5 separate regions of the Homo sapiens genome follow, and all the other regions are linked to region 5. The links are contacts of gene promoters, found by promoter capture Hi-C in blood cells and fetal thymus (Javierre and others, 2016). All regions are on one chromosome and are shown on one strand. The core of a region is centred on a gene start or on the middle of the fragment in contact, and the rest is flanking DNA. Distances in the headings are between cores, read along the strand shown. Region 1 overlaps C5orf67 (chromosome 5 putative open reading frame 67). Region 2 overlaps C5orf67 (chromosome 5 putative open reading frame 67). Region 3 overlaps C5orf67 (chromosome 5 putative open reading frame 67). Region 4 has its middle 94 kb from the start of LINC01948. Region 5 holds the start of LINC01948 (long intergenic non-protein coding RNA 1948).

Region 1 (2,700 bases), core at 71-2,570, 80 kb before region 5:
CTCATCAGCCTCCAGGAAACACACTCCTAGTTTCTCAAGATCCATGTTCTTCTTAAGGGTCTCTACAAATTTGCTTTTAGTTCTCTTCCAAAGTACACAGACCATAAAGATCAGACAAGGTCTTAAGATCCATTGTAACAATACTGGTTTTCCTAGAGAGGTTCTGTCAAGCACAGAATGCTAGAATCAGAAAAGATCTTAGAAAATACTGTCTGTGCTGTCCCAATATAGTAGCCACTTGTTATATGTGCCTATGTAATCTTACTCTAAATTAGTTAAAAATAAAAATAAAATTAAAAATGCAGTTCCTCAGTTGTATTCATCACACTTTAAGTGCTCAATATATCCCCATGTGGCTAGTGGCTGCCACACCCAACAGTACAGAGACAGAACATTTTCATCACAACAGAAAATCCTATTGGATAGCACTGCTAGATCAACCTGCTCACTCTGTGTATGAAAACATTGAGGTCCAGAAGTCCAGAGAGGTGAAACGATTATACCAAAATCACATAGCTAGTTAAGGAAAGAACTAGACTACAGTTTAGGTGTTTTGATTTCTACTTCAAGATATTTTCCACTTGGTGACAAAGACACCTATGGATCCACAGGCTCTCTCCTGTCGTCATTAGTATGCCACATCTACATTATATATTATCTTGGAGAAATAATTTTGATGGCTCCATATTATCTATACTCTAATACCATTTTACTAACTGGAAACTTCATTTCCATTTCCATTCTAGGGTCCTTTTTTCTCAAAATCAGCAGGCCATTTTGTCACTCACACACATAGGGTAGCCAAGTTAGCCAAGTTGCAGTTAGTTAACAGTAATTGCTAATGTTTATTAAGCATTTACTATGCACCAGTCATCTCCTCTAAGTGATTTATTAGGTTGGTGCCAAAGTGATTGCCACTTTCAGTGGTAAAAACTGCAATCACTTTGGCACCAACCTAATACATTCAACTGATGAATGTGAGGCACAGAAATGTTATGGGGTGTGCTCAAGGAGATGGGGGGTTGGGATTTGAACTCAGTCAGTCTTCTCCAGGGCCCTTGCTCTTATTCACTATGCTATAGTGTGTAGGGCATTACACAAAGTTTGATGAAAGCTAAAGCATGTGAGCAACGAATGGGAATGCAATGTCCTTACTCGAGAAATAAATAATCCAGTTATGGGCCAAGAAGAAAGTAGCAGATCCATGTGGACAATTTATGTGTACATTTTAGTATTTATAATCATACAAATACTTATGAATTTGGCAGTCTGCATCTCTAAACCTACTCTCTTTCTTCTCTTTCTTTCTTTTTGCTAAAAAACAAAACCCAAAAAGCAAAATCCTTTAATAACAAATGCCCTTCAAACGGTTGGTGATTATCCCTAAGTGGTCTACCTTTACATAGGTCTCCTGTCAGGGCCCTGGATTCATCTGGGTATGCTCCTGAGAATCCATTTGTTGACTGGCTAGGGCTGTCGATGAATGGAGGAAGGGGAGTGGAGAGATCACTTAATGCTTTGATTATAGGTCGGAGCCCCGCCAGCAGAGGTTTCTCACTAAGGCCATGGAGTTAAGTGTGTTTGTGACAAGATTTTTGCACAGATTCACTAAGTATAAATAGAGGATGTTTTTAAAAAGTAGATAGATTTAACAGTTGATTTCATGCTTTGGAAGCAATCCTTTTCAGTTTAAAAAAAAAAAATCCTTGCCCACACTTGCTGGTGAAACCACATTGGCACCCAGCTAGCAGCAGTGGTGTTTAAACATGCTGTGGCTGGCACCATTCAAACAACAACAGAAACGGCTTTAGGCTCTCAAAGCCTCCTTACTGTGCTGTGTAGAGTCCCTTCCAAGATTTCAAATAGATGAACGAATAATGTACCAAGTTGCAATTATCACTCTGAATTGGTCCAATCATAAGATGCTATTCTTGAATTATTAGTAGACTATGATTTCTATTATTCATGTTCCATCTGCTTTGGGATTTGAATTTGAGTTTTTGTGCTTAACATCTTCTGCATTTCACAAAAAGCCTCAGCCAAGGGCACTGATAATTTTTATAAGGTGTTCTGGGTCACGAACGAGTGGAATATAGCTTCTGAAGAGGCCACTTCCCTGAACTAGGGAATGTCACAAGGTTAAGTTTACTGCTTAACATAAATCTTACTTTTTTTCTTTTCTGTTTTAGGCTAGACGGTAAATTTTGCTAAGTGTTATAAAAAAAACTGAGGATTAGAATAGACGCTTTATTAACTGATTTCCACTTTACCAACTCACCAGCTTAACTGGTAGTACCCCATGCACAGGGTACTATCTCTCACCTTCCATCTCTCACCTTCTTGCTTGTGGCAAGAAGACTGCTCTCTGGTGGGTTCAGTACTTCAGCTCCCACTGAGTTTTAATTAACGGACCAATTACCCGATCCTGATTGCACTAAAGAAGAGAGCCCCAGCTGTTCTTTTATAAGTTCATAATCTTTTACTCTGAGTTTCATTTACTTGGTCAGGAAGAAATCTGTTGGGTGCAGAAGATGGCACTGACCTAATAAGATCTTAAGCTACCAGGAGATGCAAGACAGGCATTACTTAAGCAGCATGGCTATGGAAGAACCAGCCTAATTGACAGGCTGAACCAATGTGGCACCCAGGAAGATGGTGCTGTGCATCAATTCTAGACAGTAGACAGAGGATGGGAACACA
Region 2 (2,700 bases), core at 171-2,670, 64 kb before region 5:
TCCATTAGTGTGTGGTTTTCATGTGAATGATTATTCAAAGCAGATATTTTTAAAAAGCTTTAAGCATACAAATAATAACTTCCTCCACGAAAACAAATGTTACTCTTTCTATAAAATGCACCTGCTTACTTGCTTCTGGTGCAGATGGTGGTGTGCAAGCCTTCCCCATGGGGGCTTTGGTCCTAATATCCTCAGGTGGTGTGTCTTCTCTCTTCTCTCCATCGTGGTACTATCTGTCCCAAGGACTCAGCTCACCCAGGCGTGAATATGCCAAGAGGCCCATCTGCTAATGGCTGAGACCTAATAGCTGCTTCACAAGGCTCACCAGCACCTTGGTTTCCACAGTGTAAGGAAGGAAAACCCAGGTGAGCAGAGGAAGGAACTATTATCTAGGAATTTTGCCCTCTAGAACCAATGCAGACTGCTTGCCTTCCTGTGACCTCCCGCTGTGATCAACCTTCTCAAACGTAAGGGTTTGAAATCATATGAGAGTGAGGACAACTTGGCCACCAGCACTAATGGGTCTAGTGAAGGCCCAGGCAGTAGGAGAGGCAAAGGGAAGAGGGGTGAGATACGTGTATGTGGTGTTTTATTTTTTCTTGTTTCTAGAGAAATAAAAGAGGACTATTTAGAAAAAGGAGGGAAAGTTTTCACAGTTTTATTCAGACCAATATGAGAATGAGAAATGAAAATGGCAAGCATCAGCAAGGCGATATTACCATTCACTTTCTTGTTGAAGTGTCTGCAGACTTTGCCATTAGCCAAATATAATATTGTCCAACCTCTCTCCTCAAGTTCTAGGGAAGCTGAAACATGTTAATTGACAGCAAAGATGTCTTCAGAATCATCATTTATCCCCAAGGTAGATACACATTTCCTCTATGCTAAAAATAATTATAATATTAAATCGTTCATAGCAGAAAACAAGTAAGACTTGATGAAACTTTATTGAATTTATTTGCCCCCCTCATGTTAGGGCCTATAGGAGGCATGCACATGGCCCTGGAGTTAAACTAGAAAATTATCCATGCTTGTCCATTCTGCGAGGTATTATTGTGGCCTGAGAGGTGGAGACCTTATCCATGGAGAGAACATTTTTTAAGCCATATAAACATTAGCAGACCACAATAAAATCAATACTGAAAATGCAACTTAAGGACATGGCACTCTCTCTCTCTCTCTCTCTCTCTCTCACACACACACACACACACACACACACACACACACACACACACAAAGAAGGAACTGGGGGTCCTTTATTCTGGGTAACTGGGAAGGTTCTGGTCACTTTGGATAAGAGTTGCAATTAGGCTTCCAACCCGATACCCTTAGCCAAGCACAGCTCCCCATGAGATTTATGGGGCTAACAGATAAATAACACTTGCATCTGAACGCATTCATGAATAGTCATTCCAGGAAACTAAAGCAAATGTGTGTTTTTGGAGAAAATTATCCAGGTGATTGCTCTGATTTCCATTTTTCTTCCCAGCACAAATTAAAAACAAAATTTCTGAGGTCATGGAAGAAAGAAGATATGCACCACATTATCACCAGATCCTGTCTAAAAGTTGTCCCCATCCTGATGGATTGATCGAGACTTTGGATTCTGGCAGTCTTTGAAACTCACACTGCATGACATGTGCAAAGTCCTCCTTCAGTCGAAGGATGATTCTTCAAAGGGTGATCCCTCAAAGACACTAAGAAGGCAGCTGACCCCCAGAAGGCCCTTTTGGATTGCAGAATTCCAGGCGCTCGCACCTCTGAATACAGCACTGAAGACAGCTTGGCTGCCTCCCCGCCTCCTCTGTCCTGGTACAGCTGCAGAGGGGCTGACTTTGGCAGCCATAGATCACTGAGGCTTTGTCTCAGCTTCTCTCAGAACAGCTTTTCATCAGGAGATTCACAACATCTCTCAAAACACATGTAGGAAGAAGAAGTAAAGCAAACACCAATGGTTTCTTTCAAGAAAGAGACTACTTGGAATCTTTGGGTTTTGGTTTATGATTACAGTGTGTGGAACGGATCATTTCTGGTTTATGAGCAGCTTGATGTGCTAGAAAGAGCTGTGAATTTGGACTTGGAGCAATTAGGATTCTGGTTCCAGCTTTTTTCCAGCTACAGCTCGCGAGTAACTTAGTTTAGCTTCTTTGACCTTGGTTTCCTCATCTGTAAAATGAGAGGGTTTGCTCAGATGATCTTTGACCTAATGAGTCTACGAAAAGTGAATGTTGGAAGCACATGTTCACCTTCTCCAATTACCAGCTGTGATTATGTGACTGGACCAAATGGCACTAACTGTCGAAACCTTTTAGGCTGAAGGGGAAGCACTAACTGTTGAAACCTTTTAGGCTGAAGGGGAAGCATTCTGAAATAGGACAAGGGGCACCTCGTGTTGAAACCTGGAGCTGGTCAACCCTCTGAGGCCAATGCCGACCTTTGCATCTGCCTCCCACGCCCTGCTTGTTTTAGCTGGACCAGGAGAAACTAATGTCAAGACAAAAAAAAAAAAAACCTGAAATCCATAACATTTTGATAGGTAGCTTTATGAACAGTTACAAATCAGATGTTTGCCCCCCAAATTTTAACTTTATTCTCTGAAACAGATCTAAAATTCCTATCTACCTCACAGTTTCACAGATAACCCAGTCTCTTCCAGTTTATAACTGCCTCTTTGGGGTAAGTATTCAGTTAAGTATTTCA
Region 3 (2,749 bases), core at 25-2,524, 120 kb before region 5:
AGATCGTCTCACACATATAATTGGTCTTCTCTGTTGGCACAGCAGAGTGTGCAGACTTATTATAAGGAATGTTTGGTTATCCTGAACTCAGTCCCTGAAGGACAGGTGTATGTTTTACAGCTGCACGCAGGGAATTTTATTCATGGGCCAGCTTCCAACTGCCCTTAGCTTGGCTCTTGTACCATTTCTCCAGCTCAGCTCCCCACCCTTCCCCCCGCTAATTTTGGTATTGGCCTAAATGAACAAATAAGATCTTAAAAAAAAAACAAACCCTCATGGCTTCTAGAGATGTTTATTTTTGTTGTTGCTGTTGTTGTTGTGTGTAAGTGTGTGCGAGAAAGGTGGCACATATGTTTTATAGATTTGGAAAATGTAGATGAATGAATTTAAACTATTTGCCTAAAGGTCAAAAATTGGGAGCATGTTAACTAGAACTACACTCATCATTGCCTCCTTCAAAAAACAATGCTCCACAGTTGATGTGCGTCTGGAGCCTTTGTGCTGGGCCCTGCATGGTCTAGAATCTGACATTGAGTTCTTTTATGCAAACTTTATACCTTTGAAATTGTCTTCCAGTTATTCAATCAGACACTTTTTTTTTTTTTTTGTGACACCCAGGCTGAAATGCAGTGGCACGATCTTGGCTTACTGCAGCCTCCACCTCCCGGTTTCCAGTGATTTTCCTGCCTCAGCCTCCCGGGTGCTGGGATTAAAGGCACGTGACACTACACCAGGCTAATTTTTGTATTTTTAGTAGAGACGGGGTTTCACTATGTTGGGCAGGCTGGTCTCGAATTTCTGACCTCAGGTGATCCTCCCACCTCGGCCTCCCAAAGTGCTGGGATTACAGGCGTGAGCCACCGCGCCCAATCTCTTCAAACACTTTCTACAGGATACCTACTGTGACTTTTGCAGTCAAAGTGAAACTTGATCAACAATAAAAGCTACTAGCGAAAAATCTTGTGGTGATAGTGGGCAGGGAGAAGGGGTAGAGGAATCCCTTATGATTGTGGTCTATGGTAAATCATTGCAACATTTACCGTTACTACTGACATATTGACATTACATACGAAAACAAATGGACTAATTTGTGACCACTAAGATGTATGGTTTGACCCCCTGCTTTCAGAGTAGCCCCTTTGGTTCTGTTTTCTCTAATCTGACTGTGGAGTCTCAGACTAACTCCAATTTTTCAGCATTTATTGAGTACTTGCTATGCTCTTGGTGCTAGGGTCACACAAATGTTTTTTATAACACACCCCTACCTTTGAAGGAAAGCCAGTCTGCCTTTCTCATGTGCTGATTTTTAGGGGATTTAGAAGATGGCAGTTGCTGGGCAAGGTTATTGTTTATGTAGAAGGTATCATTGTTAGGAATCTAATCGCTCTTTTGCTGTGACTCATAATTATAAGATCATATTCGCACGATGCTCTGCCATTTAGAAAGAGATTTTGCATGTTCAATTTCATTTGGTCTTTACAACAATCTTTTGAGGTAGGTTACTGGAGTACCCTTATCCTCAGTTTGTAGAGAGAGAAACTGAGGCATGGAGAGGCTAGTGACCTGCCCAAAGTCAAAAGCTAGCAAGTGGAGAAGCCAAATCTCAAACTTCGATCCCATGACTCTTCTGATTCAGAAGTCTCATTATCATTCTGGCTCTTTTAGAAAAAAGGGAAGAGCCACACTGTGAACTCATCTGAGGGCAGAGACCTTGTCTTTGTTACCTCAGGATCCTCCCTGTTCCCATAACTTCTAGCATAATGTCTGGTATACATCAGGCTATAATACAGGTTTGTTGGTTGAAATCACATCAAATCTCTGTCAATGAGAGAGAAAAAAGAGATGGCCACCTTTCTCCCTTCATATTACCAGACATTAAAGATTATGATGATGACCTACTCTACTTTATTCTTGCTCACCACCCTGTATAGAATTGCACATAAATATTTGTTAGTGTGGAACATTTCATTTCCCAGCAGTCTAGAGCTTCGTTGGGTAGATAGGCTGAAAGGTGACACTACTGAATTTGCAGCATGCTTCACTCACATTATAGCCTATTTATCTTCAGTATCATGACAACTTTGAGGAGTTCATCGGAAAATTTGGATTCTGTGACTGCTCCAGAGACAGGCCTAGTGGACGATTTTAATAACCTCCCTGTGAATGTCATAAAGGCAGGCAGGAGGAGAGGGGTTATGAGCAGTCTTTTCATATCTACCACTATGGAAATAAGCCAGTTACTTGTCTCAGAGTTCAGGCTCCAGAAAATACTCCTCTTGTTTCTATCCTCTAGAATCATCCTCAGCAAAGGACAATTTATTTCAGGCTAAAATAAATGTTTATTCTAGTCTGAAACCACAGTTGCTCAACTCCAAGAAAGCTGCATAACCTCAAGCAGGTGACATTTGATGGTTTTCCCTTTTGTATCAGATGAATTTTAATTTTTCTCTGAGGTCAACAGGCACGATGCTGAAATACTTCAGTGGATGCTCATTGACCTGAGCTATCCAACTTGCATTCAGCAAGTACAAAATCTATTTCAGATGAGTCTCTGTTCCCATTCTGCCCTGTCAGCAGGGAAGAAAGGGAACAATTATTTGGTGATAATCACTCTGACGGCAGTAATCTCTGGCAGCTGCTAGAGAAGAGACATAATTGCCTCCTACACCCCTAACCTTTAGAATAGAGCTCTGAAAGCTTGATAAGAGGGGCTGAAGATGTGTGAACAGCCTCGAAATAACTTTCTGTC
Region 4 (2,700 bases), core at 96-2,595, 94 kb after region 5:
CATGGCTCTGATTTGTGCTGGAGTGAGTGAATGACTGAGGTAAGCTTTCAACTGAAATTTGACTGTGGTTTAGTTCCTTGTAGAACATGAGATTTTTAGAGATATTCTGAATAAAGAAAAGTCTTCCAAGGTCAAATATTTTTGGAAAGTGCTCCTCCACTCTTGAAGATTCACAATGGACATTAGCATATACGTGAATGGCTCTTCAGTAAAGAAAACTACTTATCTTTCTGTTTGTTGAGCCCAACAGGTCTTAACATAATTTCATTATATATATATATATATATATATATATATATATATATATATATATATATATTTTTTTTTTTTTTTTTTTTTTTTTTCCCCTCATTTGGAAGCATTAGAATCCTCTGAGGTTAAATTAACCTGACAAACCCTGAGCAGGAAGTTATGCATGGAAGTGACACCAAGTGTGTTTGGACAAGACTTTATCCCACATGTGAAGGTACTCTTCATTCAGACACAGGAGGAGACTCCATCTCTCTCTTCCTGGTGACATAGCTTAGAGTTATATTTTGTTCAGATGTAGAAATTGATAGAGCCAAAATAAACAAAATTGCAGATGTAACTAAAAAAGCTCTTGAGGTGACTCCTGTTCTGTGCCTAAAGCAAAAATTCCACACTTAATCACTTTTGTAAGTAGCTATTCCTACCTGGGCTTCCCAGGGGAATAGGAAACCATTTCACTAACTGCTGTAGTCTAAAATTCCAGAGATATAATTTATGAGCTGTTCCAGAGGCCAAGAACAGAATTATTCCCAGCAGAAGATGCAATGTTTTAAGAGCAATGAAATCCATACTCTGAAGAAAAGAGGAAAAGCAGATTCTAAGAGTCTTAGAGCCTATTAACAAAATATATTAAGTGCTAGTGGACCTGAGGTGATGGCTAATGTTATAGTTGGTCTAAGTCACCTATTGATGTTTCCATGTTTGGATTAGTTGGATTTTTTCTCATGTCACTTTCTTGTAGTTAACCTTGACTCTGTTGTTGACCTAACCTGAGCCCTGCATACTTTCTGCTAAGTCATGAAAAGGTTAAGAATTTATAAAGAAAAGACAAACAAGCCTCTAAGATTGGTTACTGAAATGGTTACTTTCCTGTTAGGAATTTTGCATCTCAAACAAAATGAGAAGAGTGGGCTTATGTATGCCAGGAGGTTTATAGGTCTACAACACGTGCAAGACACAGAAGAAAATCTGCAGAAATGGGACCAGCTCTCAGTATTCAGAGGGCCAGTGTGATTCTCTCAATAGCACAAATATTTCTGGACACATATCCTAAAATGAATTAAACATATAATGACAGGGTATTAAGTTCCTTAGATACAAGCAATTTCGAGAGGAATGGGAAAGGGGAGGCATGGAGAATGTATCCATAAACACAGTTCTAAAAAATACAAAAGATCTCTTTCGTTTCTAAGAGGTAATTATTTAATGGAAATATTCATGAGAACACAGCCCAAGGACTGTTGTAAAAATATAAAACTTACATTAATTATCATAAAGAATCTATTCAGTGCCATGAATGCAAAATGGCTGTTTTCATGAACAAAGCCAAAAGCAATTTAATCTTCCCTCTTTGAAAACAGGGATTGGTATTTGAGTACCTGATTTAGCCTGGGTCCTGAGCAAGCTGCTGAGAGAGTTGCAGTGGAATTCATGGGTTCATTAGAGATTGCTTATTTTAATAATAGGCATCCCCTTGCTTTGTTTGTACTAACTATTCTTAATATGTAAGAAGGCCAAAACATTACTGGATAATCAATTACCAAGCCTCAGAAACAAGTGAAATAGGTGAAGTACACAGTCCAATTTTTTTGAAAGTGTTTCCTTTACAAAATTGCTTTCGCTCATGCTCTGATGTTTTTAATTCTGTAATTAGAAATATGCCACCTTGGGTTAACGTGTTGATGTTTATTTAAAAGTAAACAGAATAACTAATACAGTATATTAAGCCTTTTCTGTCAATTGAAATATGACTTAATGTATTACTGCAGTAAACTGTTGCAGTTACTGAAACTCAGGAGGATGAATTTACCAGATCCCTTCCTAAAACCAGGCTTTGACATGGAAGGGGGTAGAGTGATCTTGAGGACCGTGAATGGTGAGGAATTCCCAGAAATAGGAGGTGACAACATCTAAGGCCATCTTTCCTGCTTCACAGTATTTTTTCAACTGTGCTTATTATAAATAGTTTTGTCCCCTCTTTATAGAAGTTGACTCTAAAAATTCTGTAAGATTGCAGAGCAATTGTACATTTTCAGAGCCATCATATTCTCAAATCTTCCCAAGTAGCACCAGTATTTTCATCCAAGAAACTCTTTAGATCCCCTTAGTATCATTCTGTGCCTGGGGTTTTCCGCACTTTTGGACACTGCCATTCATTCAACAAATTCAAGGACGATAAGACGCTGCTGTAGCCCTCCCGCCTGGAGTGTGGAAGACAGTGGGCGAGACAAACTCAATAGCAATGCATTGCTATCTTTATAGACCCAATTTCTAGTTATCTCTGAAACTATGGTATGTGGCTCTTTGAACGTTCTATTTTGTCTTATTTTGCTTTGGAAGTGCATTCTTTCAAGTCTAATTAGACTATTTGTGGCTTAAAGAAAAATACAAAGCTTTTCCCAGGACACTTTGGGCTTTCATGTTTACCATCAAATTAGCAAAAAACAAACA
Region 5 (2,700 bases), core at 179-2,678:
CCTTTTCTCCACAGCCTTGCCAGCATCTGTTGTTTTTTTGACTTTTTAATAATAGTCATTCTGAGTGGTGTGAGATCTCATCGTGGTTTTGATTTGCATTTCTCTGATAATCAGCAATGCTGAGCATCTTTTCACATTTGTTGGCTGCTTGCATGTCTTCTTTTGAGAAGTGTCTGTTCATGTCTTTTGCCCACTTTTTAACAGGGTTGTTTGTGTTTGTGTTTTGCTTGCATAGCTGCTTTCCATGTTCTTTTCTATGTTATCTAGAACTATAATAAAAGTAACTGCCCAGCTCTTTGGGAGGCTGGGGCAGGCGAATCACTTGAGGTCAGGAGTTCAAGGGTAGCCTGGCCAATATGGTGAAACCCTGTCTCTATTAAAAATACAAAAATTAGCCGAGTGTGGTGGCACACACCTGGATTCCCAGCTACTCAGGAGGCTGAGGCAGGAGAATTACTTGAACCCCCAAGGCGGAGGTTGCAGTGAGCCCAGATCGCACCACTGTACTCCAGCCTGGGAGACAGAGTGAGACAGCGTCTCAAAAAAACAAAAAAAAAGGAACTAGGTCTAAGACAGGGTACCCAATCTATTTCTAAGAAGATGCTACTTCTCATTTTCTGGAAACACTGTAGCAAAGAGGAAGGGACAATAATGTCCCATAGTGGGTGGGCAGATATAAAAACCCCAAGATGTTCATTTCAGGCCCAAAGTGACTACTGCTTGCTACCCTCACCTTTCTCTGCTGGAACACTACCAGCCCCTGTGAGATGTGGGTGATCTCATGGGTGTTTGGAAGAATCCCAGTACCAGGCTAGGGGATCATCAAAGCTGACTGGATCAGTCCTGCTAGATCAGGAAGCCTTACTGAGTAAGGCTAATGCCAGGTCTCCAAACTGCCACTGAGCATCAGGGGTCCTTCCCACAATATCTTTGTTTCTCTAGGTCAAGAAATGATGCCGTCCCTAGAAACAGCGCAATGTTTATGTAAGAGTCAACTCAGAGACCTTGTGCCGGTACAAGAGGTACTATCTCATCCTGCTCCCCTGCAGGCACTAAATGAGACAAAATTCCTTCTGGAGTTCAAGTCCAGAAGGCTGACTATGCTGTTAATGGCAGTATACTGAGTTAAGAGAATTCGGGGAGACGGGAATATTGGGTCCACGATTCTGCCTGGAGGGAAGAATTGTGGTCTCCTCAGTCCTGTGGAGTAGGGGTCCGGGCTGATGATAGCGCCTCCTGGTGCAGAGTATACAAACAGCTGAAGATCTGCCTGGACCCCCTACCCCTCTCTTTTTTCCTTGTGGAAACTGTGTATAATTTGGAAAGAGCAAGGACATCCTGGCTCGCAGCTGGCCAGCTCCACCTGCGACCTGGACAGCCTCGCCCCTCCCTGCGGAGCCAGGCGAGTTCACAGGGCTGCCTCCGCTTCTTGCAGCATGTCTGCTCTCCTGGCCTGGCCTCTCCAGACCTTTCCCTCCACGGGCAGCGATTTCCAAGGCTCTCAAGACTCCAAACCACGTCGTTTTGGGAGTGAAAAAGTGAAAGCACACATCGTGTCATTAGAGCAGCAGGGACCAGCTGCTGGGTCAACACTTCCGAAAACAGCGCTTCCTGGGGAGCGACCGGAGCATCTCAGAATCTACGGTTTGACCTCCTGCCAATTCTCATGGTGTCTTTATACATTTTAACACAAAAATAAGATGTTTTCACTTGAGAGCGAGAGGGAAATGAACTGTTAAGGTGCTCTGTCGCCAGAGAAGTGAAGTTGGGGGGTAAATTTTAGGAACCCCCGACCCCCCTACCGAGGGAGGATGCGAAGTCGGCTCCTGAAACGCGAGCGAAACCCCCGCGCGCTTCCCGGGGTGACGCACATGTCTGTGTTTCTTTTTGCTTTTGACCAAAAGTCGTAGGGAGGGTCCTCCTCAGGGGACAGTCGCGGGCGCTGTGCCAGTCCTTCCTGTCCCCCCACCAAAGTCAACCCCAGCCCCAGGCCAAGGCCGCCCCGGCCGGAAGAGCCAGCTGGTGGGGGCCGTGGGGGGCGCGGCGGGCGCGCGGGGCTGGGGGCGGCGGGTCCGCCTACCCCGCCTTCCTGGCGTGGAGAGTTTCGGCCCCAGCCTCGCTGGCGTGGACTCTGCCTGAACCACGCCTGGGATGCTTTTGCCAAAGGAAACTTGGGGGGTGGGGGCGGGGCGGGCGACGATTCCCCCCCTCCCCACCCCGCCCCTGTCCTCCTCGGCCGGGAGCCGCGCTGGGCCGGGGTCAGCTGGCTGCCTTTGTGGCCGCTTCCCAGGAAGGAAGAAGCGTTGTCTGCAGATCAGTTGATCCGCGGGCTTTCCTGTGTCGGAATGCCGCCGTTTTCCGGGGACGGCTGCCACCCCCGTGATTCCCAGCCGGGGCTGCCGGCCGTGCGTAAGAGCCGGATAAATAGGCCATTGTGAGGCCGTTCAGATCTAGGTTTCTTATCACAGTATCCACCAGCGAGAAGCAGATTCGGCCCCTGATGGAGCTCATCCCAGCTTCTCTTTTCTTTCTCTGCACAGTTACAGCCATTTCTATTTTTTGCAGTTGTAAAGGGAATATTCAGAAAGCAATTTATTGTGTGCGACAGGGACTTAAGGGAGCGTGTCTGCAGACCGTGTTCCCACCGGGGTTGGGGTTCGCAACCTTGAGTTTAGCTCGATGGGCTTTGGTGTGTGAGGT

What was found. Contacts are between HindIII fragments. The CHiCAGO score rates a contact against its expected background, and 5 or more counts as called.
Region 1: a fragment that was not itself captured here is called in contact with the fragment with the promoter of LINC01948 in region 5 in 2 of 17 cell types (naive B cells and total B cells); the score reaches 8.7 in naive B cells.
Region 2: a fragment that was not itself captured here is called in contact with the fragment with the promoter of LINC01948 in region 5 in 1 of 17 cell types (total B cells); the score reaches 6.2 in total B cells.
Region 3: a contact is called between a fragment that was not itself captured here and the fragment with the promoter of LINC01948 in region 5, in 2 of 17 cell types (total B cells and naive B cells). The highest score is 8.6, in total B cells.
Region 4: a fragment that was not itself captured here is called in contact with the fragment with the promoter of LINC01948 in region 5 in 1 of 17 cell types (neutrophils); the score reaches 5.5 in neutrophils.

The regions. Positions count from the first base shown.
Region 1 is chr5:56,560,725-56,563,424 of GRCh38, reverse strand. All of the region lies in intron 1 of C5orf67 (chromosome 5 putative open reading frame 67), which reads left to right. Among named protein-coding and RNA genes, the nearest start is that of C5orf67, 44 kb to the left of the region's middle. The HindIII fragment of the contact is 4,794 bases long and covers 1-2,700 here.
Region 2 is chr5:56,544,817-56,547,516 of GRCh38, reverse strand. All of the region lies in intron 2 of C5orf67 (chromosome 5 putative open reading frame 67), which reads left to right. Among named protein-coding and RNA genes, the nearest start is that of C5orf67, 60 kb to the left of the region's middle. RefSeq lists a silencer at 2,229-2,429. The HindIII fragment of the contact is 2,722 bases long and covers 60-2,700 here.
Region 3 is chr5:56,601,626-56,604,374 of GRCh38, reverse strand. The region is part of intron 1 of C5orf67 (chromosome 5 putative open reading frame 67); the gene reads left to right. Among named protein-coding and RNA genes, the nearest start is that of C5orf67, 3.3 kb to the left of the region's middle. RefSeq lists an enhancer at 1,133-2,749. The HindIII fragment of the contact is 2,851 bases long and covers 1-2,699 here.
Region 4 is chr5:56,386,743-56,389,442 of GRCh38, reverse strand. No RefSeq gene overlaps it. Among named protein-coding and RNA genes, the nearest start is that of LINC01948, 94 kb to the left of the region's middle. The HindIII fragment of the contact is 2,598 bases long and covers 47-2,644 here.
Region 5 is chr5:56,480,497-56,483,196 of GRCh38, reverse strand. LINC01948 (long intergenic non-protein coding RNA 1948) reads left to right here and starts at 1,428. Exons shown (of 5, transcript NR_104664.1): 1 at 1,428-1,644. RefSeq lists an enhancer at 1,500-1,659. The HindIII fragment of the contact is 6,332 bases long and covers 1-2,700 here.